Linked DNA regions of Homo sapiens: region 1 is linked to region 2. Evidence: promoter capture Hi-C in human tissues and cell types (Jung and others, 2019). All regions are on one chromosome and are shown on one strand. Each heading gives the region's core, a stretch centred on a gene start or on the middle of the fragment in contact. The rest is flanking DNA. Distances are from core to core; before and after follow the strand shown.

What was found. The method cuts DNA at HindIII sites, captures the fragments that hold promoters and counts their contacts. A contact is called where the count stands out against the background at its distance.
Region 1: a contact is called between a fragment that was not itself captured here and the fragment with the promoter of ZNF641 in region 2, in 1 of the 25 tissues and cell types used here (adrenal gland).

The regions. Positions count from the first base shown.
Region 1 is chr12:48,613,839-48,618,952 of GRCh38, forward strand. No RefSeq gene overlaps it. Among named protein-coding and RNA genes, the nearest start is that of SNORA2C, 38 kb to the right of the region's middle. The HindIII fragment of the contact is 5,812 bases long and covers 1-4,329 here.
Region 2 is chr12:48,348,742-48,353,301 of GRCh38, forward strand. It overlaps ZNF641 (zinc finger protein 641), which reads right to left and starts at 2,178. Exons shown (of 6, transcript NM_001172681.2): 1 at 2,045-2,178. RefSeq lists enhancers at 1,689-1,758, 2,197-2,933 and silencers at 1,899-2,328, 2,609-2,688. The HindIII fragment of the contact is 12,105 bases long and covers 1-4,560 here.

The sequences.
Region 1 (5,114 bases), core at 174-2,673, 260 kb after region 2:
AGCTTGGCTAGATATAAAATTCCAGGTTGGAAATTCTTTTCTTTAAGAATGTTGAATATTGGCCCTCAATCTCTTCTGGCTTGTATGGTTTCCACTGAGAGGTTTGCTGTTAGTCTGATGGGTTTTCCTTTGTAAGTGACCTAGCCTTTCTTTCTGGCTGCCCTTAACATTTTTTTCTTTCATGTAGACCTTGGAGACTCTGAGGATTATGTGTCTTGGGGTTGATCTTCTCGTGGAGTATCTTACTGGAGTTTTCTGCATTTCCTGAATTTGAATGTTGGTCTGTCTTGCTAGGTTGCAGAAGTTCTCCTGGATGATATTCTGTAGTATGTTTTCCAACTTGGCTCCATTTGCCCCATCTCTTTCAGGTACCCCAATCAGTCATAGGTTAGGTCTTTTTAAACAGTCTCATATTTCTCTGAGGTTTTGTTCATTCCTTTTCATTCTTTTTTGCCTGTCTTATTCAGAAAGATTGTCTTCAAGCTCCGAGATTATTACTATTCTTGTCTGCCTGTCTTATTTCAGCAAGATAGTCTTGAAGCTCTGAGATTCTTTCCTCCACTTGGTCTATTCTGCTACTGATACTTGTGACACATTGTGATGTTCTCATGTTGTGTTTTCAGCTCCATCAGGTCTGTTTTGTTCCGCTCTAAACTGGCTATTCTGGCTATTAGCTCCTGTATTGTTTCATTTTGTATTTTGTAGAGGTGGAGATTTGCTCTGTCACCCAGGCTGGAGTGCAGTGGCCTGATCTCAGCACACTGCAACCACTGCCTCCTGAGTTCACTGGTTCTCCTGCCTCAGCCTCCCAATTAGCTGGGATTACAGGCAAGCACCACTGTGCCCAGCTAATTTTTTTGTATTTTTGGTACAGACAGTTTTCATCATGTTGGCCAGTCTGGTCTCAAACTCCTGACCTCATGATCTGCCTGCCTCAGCCTCCAAAGTCCTGGGATTATAGGCATGAACCACTGCACCCAGCCTCCTATATTGTTTTATCATGATTCTTAGCTTCTTTGCATTGGGTTAGAACATGCTCTTTTAGTTCAGTGAGGTTCATTATTACCCATCATCTGAAGCCTACTTCTGTCAATTCAGCCATCTCAGCCTGAGCCCAGTTTTGTGTCCTTGCTGGAAAAGTGTTGTGGTCATTTGGAGGAAAAAAGGCCCTCTGGCTTTTTGAGTTTTCAGCTTCTTTGCATTGATTCTTCCTCATCTTTGTGGGCTTATCAACCTTGAATCTTTGAGGTTGCTAACCTTTGAACAGACTTCTTGTGGGGTCTTTTTTGTTGATGTTGTTGCTGTTGTTTTCTGTTTGTTTGTTTGCTTGTTTGTTTTTCTCTTAACAGTCAAGCTACACTACTGTAGGGCTTCTGTGGTTTGCTGGGGGTCCACTTCAGACCCTAGTTGCCTTGTTTTTTCCAGTACTTGGAGGTATCACCAGTGAAGGCTGCAAAACAGCAAAGATGGCTGCCAGCTCCTTCCTCTGGAAACTTTGTCCCAGGTGGGTACTGACCTGTTGCTGGCCCAAACACACTGGTAGGAGGTGTCTGGAGACCCCTGTTGGGAGGTCTCACCCAGTCAGGAGGAATGGGATCAGGGACCCACTTAAATAAGCAATCTGTGCCGGGCACAGTGGGCTCATGCCTGTAATCCAACACCCTGGGAGGCCGAGGCAGGTGGATCACGAGGTCAGGAGATCGAGACCATCCTGGCTAACATGGTGAAACCCCATCTCCACTAAAAAAAAACAAAAAAAAAAAATTAGCCAGGTGTGGTGGCAGGTGCCTGTAGTCCCAGCTACTCGGGAGGCTGAGGCAGGAGAATGGCATGAACCTGGGAGGTGGAGCATGCAATGAGCCGAGATCATGCCACTGCACTCCAGCCTGGGGGACAGAGTGAGACTCCGTCTCAAAAATAAATAAATAAATAAGCAATCTGACTGCTTTTTGATAGAGCAGGTGTGCTGCACTGGGGGGAGCCCTTCCTTGTCCAGACTGTTTGTATTCTCCAAAGCCGATAGGCTGGAAAAGACTGAGTCAACCAAACCACAAAGACAGCAGCTGCACCTCCCCCAGGGGCTCTATCCCAGGGAGAGATCAGAGCTTTTTCTGTAGAACCCTAGCTGGAGTGGCTGAAGCTCCCACAGAGAGGTTGCACCCAGTGAGGAAGAATGAACTGGGGTCCCGCTTAAAGAAGCAGTCTGACCACAGTCTGGCAAGGTGGCTGTGTTGCTTTGTGAGGGACTTTTCCTCATCCAGACTTTATATTCTCCAAAACCAGCAGACTGGAATGGCTGAGTCTACCAAACTACAGCAATTATGAGTTTAATTTCTTTTATAGATATAAGATTATTCAGATTTGTATTAATTCTTATGTCATTCTGGTCATTAGCATCTTTCAAGTAATTTAAAAATTTTATTTAAATTGTCAAATGTATTGGCATAAGGTTGTTCATAATACTGCCTTTTAATTCTTTTAATATCTGTAGGGTTTGTAGTGATACCTCTTCTTTTGTTTATTGATATTGATAATTTGTGTTTGTCTGGGTTTAAGTCAATTTAGCTGATAATTTATCAATTTTATTGATTTTTTTCAAAGAGCTAATTTTTTGCCTGTAATCCCAGCAATTTGGAAGGCCAGACCACTTGAGCCTAGGAGTCCAAGACCAGCCTGGGCAACATGGTGAAACCCTGACTCTACAAAAAATCTAAAACATTAGCCAGGCATGGTGGTGTATACCTGTAGTTCCAGCTACCTGGGAGGCTGAGATGGGAGGATCACCTGAGCCCAAGAGGTTGAGGCTGCAGTGAGCCATGATCATATCACTGCACTCCAGCCTGAATGACAGAACAATACCCTGTTTCAAATTTTTAAAAACTAATTTTTGTTTTATTGGTTTTTCTCCTTTATATTCATTGATTTCCATTCTTTGTTATTTTCTCTGTTCTATTTACTCTGAGTCCATCTTGCTTTTCCTGATCTACCTTGTTAAAGTGGAAGCTTAAATTATTGGTTTTAAATATTTATCTTTCTAACATAAGCATTTAAAGACATAAAGTTTCTTCTAAGCACTGATTTAGCAGCATTTCACAATTTTTCATATGTAATTATTATAATTTAGTTCAAAATATTTTCTAATTTCCCTTGTGATTTCTTCCTTTACTCATGGGTTATTTAAACACACATTGCATGCGAGGCACAATGGCTCATGCCTGTAATCCCAGCACTTTGGGAGGCCAAGGCAGGAGAATTTTTTGGGGCCAGGGGTTTGAGACCAGCCTGGGCAATATAGCAAGACCTTGTCTCTACAAAAAAAAAAAAAACTTAATTAAGCAGATATAGTGGCACATGCCTCTAGTCCCAGCCACTCAGGAGGCTGCAACAGGAAGATTATTTGAGTCCAGGAGTTTGAGGTTACAGTAAGCTATGATCACACCACTGCACTGCAGCCTGCGCAACGGAGTGAGACTATGTCTCTCAAAAAATCATAATAATAGGCTGGGCGCACATCTATAATCCCAGCTCACATCTATAATCCCAGCACTTTGGGAGGCCGAGGCGGGTTCATGAGGTCAGGAATTTGAGACCAGCCTGGCCAACATGGTGAAACCCCGTCTGTACTAAAATACAAAAAATTAGCCGGGTGTGGTGGTGTGTCTCTGTAGTCCCAGCTACTCGGGAGGCTGAGGCAAGAGAATCACTTGAACCCAGGAGGCAGAGGTTGCAGTGAGCCGAGATCGCATCACTGCACTCCAGCCTGGTGGCAGAGCGAGCCTCCATCTCAAAAAAAAAAAATCATCATAAAATAAAAGTATGTTGCTTAAATTCTAGATATTTTATTGTTGTTTATTTCTAATTTACTCCCCTTGTGGTAATAGAAAATATTCAGCTTTATCTTAATTCTTTGAAATTTATTGAGTTTTGTTTTATAGCCCAGCATATGGTCTATTTTGGTGAGAAAGTCTTTCTTGCTGTTATACATGAAGTGTACTATAAATGTCAATCATATCAAGTTGGTTGATAGTGTTTTGTAAGTTTTCTACATACATACTGATTTTCTGACTACTCGTTGAATAAATGCTTGAGAGAAGAACGTTGAAATATCCAACTGTAGTCATTTCAGCTCTATCAGTTTTTCCCTCATTCACTTCATTTTGAAGCTCTGTTATTGAGTCCACACACATTTCAGATTGTTCTACCTTCTTGATGAATTTAACTCGTTATCATTATATAAATTCTTATTTATTCCTAGAAAATTTCTTGTTTGGAACTCTATTTTGTCTTACATTAATACAACCACTACAGCTTTCTTTGTTGTTGTTGTTGTTGTTTTACTTTAATCACCTTGACAAGTACAACTTTCTTATGATAATCATTTTCATGACATATTCTCATGTTTATATTTATATTTAAAGTTCATTTATTACAGAACAAAACGCTGGTTACCGGGAGCAGGTGTGAGGAGGAAATGAGGAGATGTATGTCAGAGAATGCAAAGTGGCAGATATATAGGATGAACGAATCTAGAGATCAAATGTACATAAAACATGAGGATCACAGGTAATAAAATTGTACTCTATACGGGATTCAAGCTAAATGAGTATATTTTAGCTGCTCTTGCCACAAAAACAAAAACCATGAGTAACTGCATGAGATGATGGATATGAAAATTTGCTTCACCATAGTCAACCTAAATGAAGATGTTTGCCAGTTTCTTCTACTCAGGAGCTCTTGTGTCTGTCTGCAATGCTGCCGCTTCTCGGGTGCTGTAGAAAGCTGCGGTACTGGAGTTCCACCTAGTGTTTGTCTGTGGTACTGCAGATTCTGGTGCTGGAACAAACCACGTTGATCACCTTTGTCCTTAACCAGCCCCAACCTGAGCACTGTTCCTGTCAGTGCTTAAATTTGGGCAGCTCCCTCAACAGCATCTTCATAAGTCAGAATGTTGGGTGCACATTTCACTCCTTTCCCTTCCCAGGAAGAAGTGGAGAGTTGGAGGTATCCTTCAGATTATGTCATGCCGTGCCAGAGGGAAGGGTGAGTGAATGTCATAAATTTTCCTGCTAAGTTTTGATAGGGTTGCCTTCGCACTCGACTGAGGGGCAAGAACC
Region 2 (4,560 bases), core at 928-3,427:
TGGAAAGCAGGTGTTAAGACTCCAAAGTAATCCTAAGAGGTAAGAGAAATTGTTGGTCTGTGAGGAGCTGAAGTTTAATCAGGAAAAGTAAAAAGGAACAGAAAGAGTTTGAACCAGAGCTGGAAAAGGGGGGAAGAACTGCTGCTAACATGACCCAGAAGAACAAACCTGTTTATTTGTCAGGCACCAGTCAGATCTCATTAGAAAAATATATTCAGTTTGAAAGAAGCGTATGGTGAAGCCAGTGTGTGTTCATCAGAAAACATCAAAGTCAAGAAAGGGATTGGAAATACAGCCACTGGGAAAGTTAAAAATGTCGGATGTAGTTTTCTCTGTCTGGAGAAGAAGGCTGATGAATGATGCTACTAATGAATAAAAACAGAGGTCCCTTCTATCTCTATATAGGTCAAACAGAAAAAAATGGGTCTTGATTGCAAGAGAAGAGATTTAGGTTATTTTTTTTTAATTCTTAATAATCCTGCAGTGTACAATACCAGATAGTGGGCTCTTCTTTTTCTTTAGACAACTTAAGAGCAGGATGGGTCACACTTCTGTTGTGATAGGGCTTTATGGCAGAGAAATAATCTGAGACTCAGAATCTCTTTCTGTTTGGCAACATATTTTGGGTATTCTTATTCAATATCCAAACAGTCAGAGTCAGTGAAAGGCTTCCAAGAGCAGTCAGAAACTTGGTAACTATCCTGGCTTACTTACATCCTTTCAATAACACTTGCAAGAACCTTGAAGGCCAGGGTAGGTAATCACAGATGTCAAGTCGTCTATTTTCTTGCCTATTTGTCTTTGACAAAAGAGGTAGGTGGGAACCCTAAGCCCAATGCACAGGAAAAACAAATTCCCTTTTTATCTCAGAAGTCCAAAGATGGCTCAGGGCCTCATGGGAGCACCCTGGACTGATTCCCAGCCTAGGAGGTTTCCTTTTCAGAGACTTTTCATGAGAAAGGAAAATTCTTGCTAAAGCAATAAAGGGAAACTTCCATTTTAGCTCTCTTCTCTGAATTCCAGCTCTGTATCCACTTTTAACACACAGGGCACTAATTCTCCCTCTTCGTCCCATCTTTCTGGTTCTCTAGCTCCTGTGCAAATCCTCCCTGAAGGCTTTACCTCTAGCTACATATCTGGACACTTGTCTCAAACCCTTTCTCCATCTCCCCCAGGTAGCAGAGTCTCTTAATGGGAAGCCTCTTTGTGCAGAGCCCATTGGGCCAGCTGTAAGTTTTTCTATACCACTGACAGAAATCCGTGGAAGTGCTAGCAAAAATCTCAGCAAAGGATGGGATGGGTACCTGTCCTCAGCTTGCATTTCCTAAGATATTCACGCAGAGCCAGCACCTGGGCGGTTAAGGTGGTAGCCCTAACCTCGTTTCTCCTGGTTCCAGGATGATCCCATGCCCACTGCAGTGTGGGTTCTAGGGCTTTCATTTCCCCCTTTTCTTCACACATATGGGTAGCAAGGGACCTGCAAAAGGAAGTTTCTGCAGCCAGTGCTGATGAACAGAAAAGGGGCCATGTTATAAAAATGAGTAGCCCAAGGGCACACGGACGAGTTGGCTCCGTCCATCAGAGAACCCTGGCCCCTGCCACGGGTAGGGCATGGGCGGGACGGGAGCCTGCTCAGGGGTAAGGTTGCTTCTTCCCTTCTTCTTGTCACAGTGCCCCTGGAAAGGGTCAGATTTCAGAGAATCCGAGCAAGGCAGAACTGGAGCAGGGGAAGTGAGGTCAGAAAACAGGTTTCCCATGAGCTGGGGCATGAGCAAGTGAAGAGAAAGGGAGCCACGGGGTAACCTGTGCGCGAGTGACAGCGGCGGGAGCCCGCAGGGCCTGACAGTTGCGATGGGCACGGGGAGACAGGGCGAGAGGCGGGCACAGAATGTCAGCGGGGCAGACCCCCGGGAAAGGCAGCAACCCGGAAGACGCGCCGATCCTCCTCCCAGCCCCTATGGGTGACCGAGCCCCCACCAGCCGCCCCGGGAAGCCAGGCGTCCCTCCCTCCAGCCGCAGCTCCCTCCGGCCCGGCTCCACTCACCCCCGGTAGGCTTGGCCCGCGGCCCGGTGCCTCCCTCCCGGGCGCCGCCTGCCCCTCCCCTCCGCCCTCCGCTTGCGTCTGGGAGCCGGCGGCCGGCGGAGCCAGCGACAGGCGGAGACGGCGGCCCGGCAGGCGCGGGCGGGGCGGGGCGGGCACAGGAAATCCCCGCCCGCTTCCGGGGCTCTGCGGCGGCGGAGGTGCGGGGAGTGGGAGGGAGAGGAGTGGGAGGGAGAGGAGTGGGAGGGAGGGAGGGAGGGAGGGACGGGAGGGGGCGGGGCTGCGGCTCAGGCGCCCCCAAACGCGAACCCGGGACCTCCGCGCCCGCCGCTGTGGGGAGGGTGCGGCCCGAGACGCTTGGAGGGCGGCGGGCGCCGGAATCGCAGCCTGCTGTGGCCACTTGCCCGCACTCTTGCCTGACTGACCATTTTCCGCTCTGGCTACTGGGCCTCCCACGGAGTTCTGTCCTCAGGGTTCGTCAATTACCTGGAATTGCGTAACCGCCCGTTACAGGCCAGACCGAGGCCGAGAGCGATTTCTCCAGACAACAGTCTGGAATTCCTCAAGGAGCGTACCCTCTAGTTTTCACGATAGGATAAAGGGCTTGAGAGAGCACTGAGGAGGAGTCACTTATTCTGCCTGAGGGGAAGTCAGGTTGCTATCTGAAGTTGGCCTTGCGGCTGCTGTCCCATTTGCGGGAGCCGTAGCCGCAGGTGACACCTGAGCTCTCGAAATGTGGCTGGTCTGAATAGAGATGTGTTCCAAGATTTAGAAGATTTAATTTAAAAAGTGATATTTTGGGTATATTGGGTTAAATATATTAAAATTAATTTCACCTGGTTTTAACTTTTTAAATGTGGCTATAAATATGGCTTGCATTATATTTCTATTGGATAGTGCTACCTTGCAGCATTAAGATGGATTTGACTAGAAAAGATGAGAAGGGCCTACAAACAGTGAGTAAACCCATTGCTGTTAGAATCTGTTTATAACCTACAAGTCACATTCACATTCCTTATTTCATCATTACAACAATTTTCAAAAATTTTATTTAGTAGACTTAAAAAATAATTGACTCACTTAAGGTCATATGTGACAATCATTCGTTTAATGCATATTTATTTTCTACGTGTGCCAGACACTGTAACTAAATGCTGGGAGTTAAAGGATTCACAGTCTGGGGAAGCACATGTCAACAAATATTTGCAATAAAAACGTAGATTCTAAAACAGAGGAACGTACGCTGCACTTGAAGCAAAGAGAAGTGACCACGTATGGGACGGAGGTCAGAGAAGGCCCCCCACTCTGACAGAAATCGTGAGGCAGAGAAGAGTCAGGAGGGCTGTCTAATGAAAGAGGAAAATGCAGTAGACACGCAGTTGGGAAGAGTATAGAGCATATTCTAGGAGCAGATCATGGGATATGTCGGGGTAGTAGTAGAGCCAGAATTTTTATCCCGGGTCCTGGAACTAAGTCCAGGGGTTCTTTTCACTTATGCTACCACTGGTGGTAAATATAAGGTGCGTTAATTGGAGTAGGCTAGCAAAACCAGTATCTCGGGGCTTAACTCCATAAAGGCTTATGTTCATACAAGTCACAGTGTGGTAACAAGTTGGTTGGGGCCAGAGGGTGGGGTCTGTACTTCTTGAATTCATTGAAGGACCAGGCTTCTTGCATTTGGTGGTTCTCCCATGCCGAGGCCTTGGTAATGTAGTCAAATCTGTGGCCCTCAGATAAGGGAGGCTGGCCGTGGTTAACTTGTCAGAGATATTAGGGGCCAGTCCTGGAAGTGGTGTGTATCATTTTCACCCCATTCCCTTAGCCAGAACTCATGCGCATGGTCACATGGCCCTACCCAGAAGGGTGGCTGGGAAGTAAAGAATGTGTGCCTCATGGAAAAGGAAATGGGCGCTGCTGGACACAGCATTGCCTCGTCACACAGAGTTAAATTGAACATAACCAAGTACGTAAACCTGACTTTACCTGAAAAGAATGTTTGGAAAGAACTGATAGATATTATAATAGCCCAAACTCTCCTCGACTGTTTTGGGAAACAAATCAGTGTGAGATTGTTTCCAAAAAATAAAAAAAGCCAGGTGCAGTGTCTCATGCCTGTAATCCCAGCACTTTGGGAGGTAGAGGCGGGCGGATCACAAGGTCAGGAGTTCAAAACCAGCCTGGCCAACATAGTGAAACCCTGTCTCTAGCTGGGCATGGTGGTGCGTGCCTGTAGTCCCAGCTACTTGGGAGGCTGAGGCAGGAGAATCGCTTGAAACCAGGAGGTGGAAGTTGCAGTGAGCAGAGATCGTGCCACTAATACTCCAGCTTGGGCAACAGAATGAGACTTCGTCTCAAAAAAAAAAAAAAAAAAAGAGGCTGAATGGTATCATCTTCTTTATACCAGAACCTTTTCTTTTTAAAAATAACTTTTATAATTTTAAATTTGTGTAGTTACATAATAGGTGAATATCTTTATGGGGTACATGAGATATTTTGATGCAGGTATGCAATGCATGATA